2 separate regions of the Homo sapiens genome follow, and region 1 is linked to region 2. Evidence: promoter capture Hi-C in 16 types of primary human blood cells and fetal thymus (Javierre and others, 2016). All regions are on one chromosome and are shown on one strand. The core of a region is centred on a gene start or on the middle of the fragment in contact, and the rest is flanking DNA. Distances in the headings are between cores, read along the strand shown. Region 1 overlaps PIK3C3 (phosphatidylinositol 3-kinase catalytic subunit type 3). Region 2 holds the start of PIK3C3 (phosphatidylinositol 3-kinase catalytic subunit type 3).

Region 1 (3,148 bases), core at 181-2,680, 50 kb before region 2:
TAAAATATCATGCTGTTATTTAGAAAGAATAAGGCAGATCTACAGTGACAGAGTTCAGGACATGCTAAAATAAAAAGGACAAAATATAGCATGCTGGCATTGAAATTTTTTTTGTTATTCCTAACAAGCCCCTTTCAATCACACCTGAGTTTATGTTCATGAGGTAACTTTTGGAAAGCCCCTAAAGATGGGGGTTGGCTGAGAGAAAAGCCAGCCATGTGATTAGAGGGTGGGACTTTAAGCTCTACCCTCTCAACCTCTGGGGAACAGAGAGAACTGAAGATTGACTTAATCGGCCAGCAGCCAATGATTTAATCAATCATGCCAATGTAATGGCGCTTCCACAAAAACTCTGATTTTTTCTGCTTTTCTCAGAAAAGCACAGCATTCTGAGAGCTTTTGGGTTGGTGAAGAAGAATGCACCCACATGCCAGGAGGGTGCTATACTGCAAACTCCATGGGGACAGAAGCTCCTGTGCTCAGGACCTCAACCCATGTGTCATTTCAACTAGCTGTTCATCTGCAACCTTTAGGATACCCTTCATAATAAATCAATAGTAGTAAGTAATGTTTTCCTGAGTTTTGTGAGTCATTCTGGCAAATTATCATTTCATCTAGCTGTTCTTCTGTATCCTTTAGGATACCCTTCATAATAAATCAATAGTAAGTAATGTTTCCCTGAGTTTTGTGAGTCATTCTAGCAAATTATCACACCCAAGGAGAGGGTTATGGGAGCCCCCTGATTTGTTAAAGCCAGTAGGCCAGAAGTCAGAAGGATGTAATCTAGTAGAGGTTAGGGGGTTGGGGTGGAGAGACTGAGCAGTGTTACAGATGAAACAAGATTGGTTATAAATTGGCAACTGCTGAAGACAGATGAATTATTTGTTGGGGTTCATTATACTATTTACTTTAGTGTTTAAATTTCACCATAATTAAATACACACATACAATGATCAACTTTAATAAATATTTAATTTGCTTCTTGAAATTCAGATACCACTAATTCAAAATGATCTCACTGTCCCCTCCCTCTTAAAAAGGTATTTGATAATAGTTGTTCTATGCGATCGACATTGCTATATATATTGAAGCTTGAGAAGTTACTCCACATCCCATAAAGTACTGCTGGCTAGCATAAACTATTAGGTTATGTTTAAGAACATATTCACCCTATAAAAATTAAGAAAACAAGTTGCTGGATTAGTCTATCTATAAAGAATTATTAAAGCCCAAAATCCAGCAATGCTTTTTGTCAAAAAAGTGTTCTTCCTTCCCTGATGGCCTTACATGAACAGTCATGTGCCACATAACAATGCTTCAGCCAAGACAGGACCACATATATGACAGTAATCCCATAAGATTATAATACTCTGTTTTTACTGTACCTTTTCTATGTTTAGATACACAAATACTTAGCATTGCGTTACAACTGCCTAAGGTATTTAGTACAACAACATGCTATACAGGTTTGTAACCTAGGAGTACACAGCCTCAGTGTGTAGTAGGCTTTACCATCTAGGTTTGGGTAAGTATACTCCATGATGTCTGCACAAAGATGAAATCCCCTAAGGACACATTTCTCAGAACACTTCCCTGTCATTAACTGATAAATAACTGTATATAAATAGCCAGCATATAGTTGGCAATCTTTGCTTTCCAAGGATCCAAAACCCCTTCAGAAAATCTACATATACATATAATTGTCATCAGCTGAAAGTTTAAAAGGCGAGTTTGAAGGAGAGGAAGATGACCATGCATCTCTAAGCTTTAAAGGCCCCAAGGGCTTTTCAAGGCTACAATTAAATGTGGCTTGTTGTATACTGACTGATAGAGGAGATCTGAATTATTCCCTAGCTGGTGCTGCATTAAACCATTTTTCACTAGAATTCCTTCTTCCAGACAGAGCAATACAAGCTCTGCTGCCAGGTAAATGTCCTGGGAGAGACTGTCCTACCACGTAACAGATCAGGAAGTAAATTTTCATTTCACAGAGGAGTCCTCTGAGGCATATTTTAATTTTCCTTCTGAAAATACACCTAGTATATCCTCTTCCCTTCTAAAAATCTCTCTTGCATGTGCACACACTCTCTCTCTCACTCTCACACACACATACACACATAGTTTATAATTAGGCTCTAGTTTAAAATGACCCATTGAAGCAGAATAATAAATAATAATGCACCTCATCATCGGCCTGTCGCAACCGGGCAACAGCATAACGCCTCACAGTTGGGTTGGTGTAATGAGAGGATAACAGCTCCAAGGAGTCCTCTACATCCATCGGCTTCCATTTTCCCAGAAGTTCCAAGGCCTGTTTGGCCTCTTGAGGTAGATCCCAATTAACACATTTCAAGAATTTTGTCAAGGCCTAAAATCAGAAAATATTTAAAAATTAGAAACAGCCTATTTCCTGGGATAGAGAAGTTGACTAGGCAGAGTTCCACTAGGTCCTAATGACAGAGCCACGGAGTCAGTGATAGACTCCTTGTGTAAGCACTAAATGAAGTTATATATATGATCTTATAGAAGCACTGCAGGACAGAAAAAAAGCATGTTCCCTGTATCTTTATATTTTCCAGGCCAAATCATTTGCGAGCACTATGAATTTTTTAATTTGTTTTGGCTTTTCTTCATTTTGCTATTGTTATTTTAAAATACTGCAGGGCTCAAGACATGGAAATAGTTGAGGCATTTCTCACGAACTCTAAGATGCCTTAGAGAAAACCTATATTTTACAACAGAAAATACTGCAACCACTGAGCGAAGGGCCGGAAGCCATGCTAGGGCAGAAATTCCCAATAGCCTCACTCTCGATCACCTCCCTAGAGTATGACCACCGGCTTTCGCAGATACTTAAACATGAAGACTCAAACGATGTGGAGTATGTACGTATCTCTGTGAAGTAACTACTTAAAAAGATAGGCAATCCAACAAAACCTCAAAACAGAAGCATAAAAATGGGTAAGTACAGAAACAGCAGCAAACAGTCTATGATCTGGCTGGTTGTACATCTTTCTGCAACCTCACTCCCTTGAATAGGCAGCACACGGAAGTTTTCACAAGACTGTCAGTTAAGCAAATTGTCTTGGAGTATATCACTCATTGCACAAACAGTAAGTCCTCTTTTAAGAAAGGTACACACTTCTTG
Region 2 (3,426 bases), core at 391-2,890:
TTTTCACCATATTCTCATTTTATAAATGAGGAAACAGAGACTTATAAACTAAACTCCTTATCCACAGTCACAACGTAAGTAACAGAGCTGAGAATAAACACTAGGGCAGGGAGGCCAAAGCCAATATTCTTCCCATTACAGTAAGATAAATCAGAGTCTCAAGAGTACTTAGGCTGGCATGGGGAAGGGACTTAGTACCCCAGATAGATGTCTGAAATGATCCTGAACAATGCATGAGAGTTGAAGCAAAAGAAGCAGAACGTCATCCCAAAGGGAAAGGAGACAGAGTGAGACCCTGTCTCCAAAAAAAAAAAAAAAAAAAAAAGGGACCGGTTTTTTTGGCTTTTTCTTTATTTTTAATGTTCAAACATTTCAAAAAATGCATTCATATATCCAAGAAATACTGAGCATCAAGCTGAAGGAAAGCCCTTTATCAATATTGATCCTGTATAAACTACTAGTGGTGTATGCTATGGAAAATACCTTAAATGAGTGTATAAAGTATCATACAAAGGTACAAGGTGGTTGTTGACATATTACTTTTACCACCACCACCACAAACTAAAAAGTAAAGTATTTGTCAGCGAATAAGGGACTTCTGAAAATAAAATGAAATGATCATTCAAAGGTACATCAGACAACTGAGAAAATTTATCTATCACTTACTGCAGGCCTTTGACCGACACATATTTGTTGAATATTAATTGAACATACACAAGAAATGTTTATTAATTATGGATGATGCTATGGTCAATAATTTGTGATAGCTTTGACAACACTCCTACATGACCACCTTAAAAGGGACATAATTTCCAACTCTGTCTTGTGCATCCCTCGTCATTATACCAGTTCTATTATCCTCATCTCAAGATATCACGCCCTTGACCTTTACTTCAGCCGTGGTGCCCCAACGTTTTCCTGCAAAGACTCTTTTCTCCTATCTTCTTGGTACCTTTGAAACTGGAACCCTCATCTTCGACTTACTCCCAACTTCCCTGACTAAACACTGCCATACTACCCAAAGATTCACTCTAGGCCTCTATCACCTCCCGTGCTAATACACCATGTGCTCATCTTATTCTCAACTATCGCATCTGCCTGTGTCTACCTCTCCATAATTTCTGAAGCCTTCATTCCACCCTACAAGCCCCGTTCCAAAATAAAGATCGTCCTCTTACTTACGACGAGACTTGATTTCTTAATTTACAATGAAATAGTAATAAACTCTCAAAAGGCTGAACAGCAAAAACTTTAAAGACTGTAAAATACAGCGGAACTTAAGGGCTATTCCTACTGCTGTGCTTCTCACGGAGACCACGTATTAAATCCTTTTCCAAAAGAGCCCCTCTCCACGATCCACTCTCTCGCGCCTCCCTGGCTACAGCCCTCACAGCCGCCCCCAATCTGGGCCTTGAGACGAGTCACGTACTTTCTGCCTCTCACTCCCAACAGGCCCCTGCCCCCACGTCCCTACGCCCCAGCAATCCCACTCCCTGTCCCGAGTGTTCTCTTACATCTTAAGCTGGACGTTGATATCCAGGTCACAACTATAGATGTAGTGAAACTTCTCTGCTTCCCCCATCGCACCGTCTGCAAAGGTACCACCTACAGCGGGAACTTAGGTACAGGAAAAACAACATAAATGAACCAGCTGAGCCCCACAACACGGAACTTCCGGTTCCGCCCCCGCCAGCAAGCCGCCAATCCACGCCCGGAGCGAGTTCCGACGCGGCGGAACTCCCCGCCGAAACAACCCTTCCGCGCATGTGCACAAGGCGCCCACCATCTTGCTTAAGGGCAAATGTATACGGGAAACGGCTAATCTGGTTACATTCCAGTTTTCCTGTCTTGACAGCACTTTTTTTTTTTTTTAAAGAAAAAGAGACGCTATCATTTGAGCTTGAGCTGTACCTAAAACAATACGAAAGAAAATTCAATTCAAAAAGAATTATAACAGCTTTCACTGGCTGCCGGCTAAACAGGTTACAAGCACAAAAATTGGAATTTTGCCAGGTTTAAATTCCAGTGGCCTTCCCAAAAAGTGTAGCACTAATTTGCTATCTCAAGCAAGGATTTTCTCTTTCTGCTCTAAAGAGTAGGGAAAGGACTAAATAGAGAATAAATAAATCTGGGTTTCATGTTTGGTGTTGTCAGTATTCATGCTACTTTGGACATAATACTTGCGTGCATGTTTAAACTGGGAATATTCAAATTCAATGTAGTTTCAAGCCCTAACCCAAGTTAGAATCTAGAGGCCTCCTGTAATAACTACAGAACACAGATCTCTAAACCCTCTGAGCTCCTATAATGTTTGTTTTTATAATTATTATAATCTAAAATTGTAATACTCCCTTCCAATTAGATTGAAAACTCTTGGAAGGTAAGACCAGTGTGCCATTTACTTCCGTGTCTTGCCCCGCTAGCTGTCTAATGCATTGCTGAGTTTAATACTTCCTACTTACTGGTTATTAATGATGATATTGAATGAAAGTCTCCATTTTCTATGCCTTTATTTCTTTTTTTTTTTTTTTTTTGAGATGGAGTTTTGCTATTGTCGCCCAGGCTGGCACCATCTCGGCTCACTGCAACCTCCATCTCCTGGGTTCAAGCGATTCTCCTGCATCAGCCTCCCAAGTAGCTGGGATTACAGGCACCCGCCACCCAGTCAGGCTAATTTTTGTATTTTTAATAGAGATGGGGTTTCACCATGTTGGCCAGTCGGGTCTCAAACTCCTAACCTCCAGTGATCTGCCTGCCCTGGCCTCCCAAACTGCTATGTCATTTCTTTTTTTTTTTTTTTTTTTTTTTTTGAGACAGAGTCGCTCTGTTGCCCAGGCTGGAGTGCCCGTCTCTCTGTTGCCCAGGCTGGAGTGCAGTGGCGCGATCTCGGCTCACTGCAAGCTTCACCTCCCAGGTTCATGCCATTCTCCTGCCTCAGCCCCCCAAGTAGCTGGGACTTCAGGTGCCCGCCGTCACGCGCGGCTAATTTTTTGTATTTTTTAGTAGAGTCAGGGTTTCACCGTGTTAGCCAGGATGGTCTCGATTTCCTGACCTCGTGATCCGCCCTCCTCGGCCTCCCAAAGTGCTGGGATTACAGGCGTGAGCCACCTCGCCCAGCCTATGTCTTTATTTCTAAGTGCTGCATTTTAAGACGGACATCACTAAAGTATGTGCAAAATGGCGTAATTAGAATGTTGAGGGATTAGAAAAAAAATATTTCCAAGAAAGGGTGAAAGGTGTGGAGCTGTTTAACCTGGAAAAGGAAAAAAAATGGCTAATGCAGAATGTTTTACACAAAATAAGTTCTCAAAAATATTTATGGAGGCAAGAAAAGGATTTGGGTAGAATAAAGAAAAACATGATAGTTATCCTCCTATAACTTAAAGTTTAAACAAAAAGAGCACCTTTGATTTGTTCCTAAGAATA

The links. The method cuts DNA at HindIII sites, captures the fragments that hold promoters and counts their contacts. A CHiCAGO score of 5 or more calls a contact.
Region 1: a contact is called between a fragment that was not itself captured here and the fragment with the promoter of PIK3C3 in region 2, in 2 of 17 cell types (non-activated CD4 T cells and monocytes). The highest score is 5.2, in non-activated CD4 T cells.

The regions. Positions count from the first base shown.
Region 1 is chr18:42,003,576-42,006,723 of GRCh38, reverse strand. PIK3C3 (phosphatidylinositol 3-kinase catalytic subunit type 3) reads right to left here. Exons shown (of 25, transcript NM_002647.4): 10 at 2,183-2,368. Among named protein-coding and RNA genes, the nearest start is that of PIK3C3, 50 kb to the right of the region's middle. The HindIII fragment of the contact is 674 bases long and covers 1,094-1,767 here.
Region 2 is chr18:41,953,448-41,956,873 of GRCh38, reverse strand. PIK3C3 (phosphatidylinositol 3-kinase catalytic subunit type 3) reads right to left here and starts at 1,640. Exons shown (of 25, transcript NM_002647.4): 1 at 1,515-1,640. The coding sequence starts at 1,582. RefSeq lists an enhancer at 1,683-1,862. The HindIII fragment of the contact is 3,603 bases long and covers 1-2,903 here.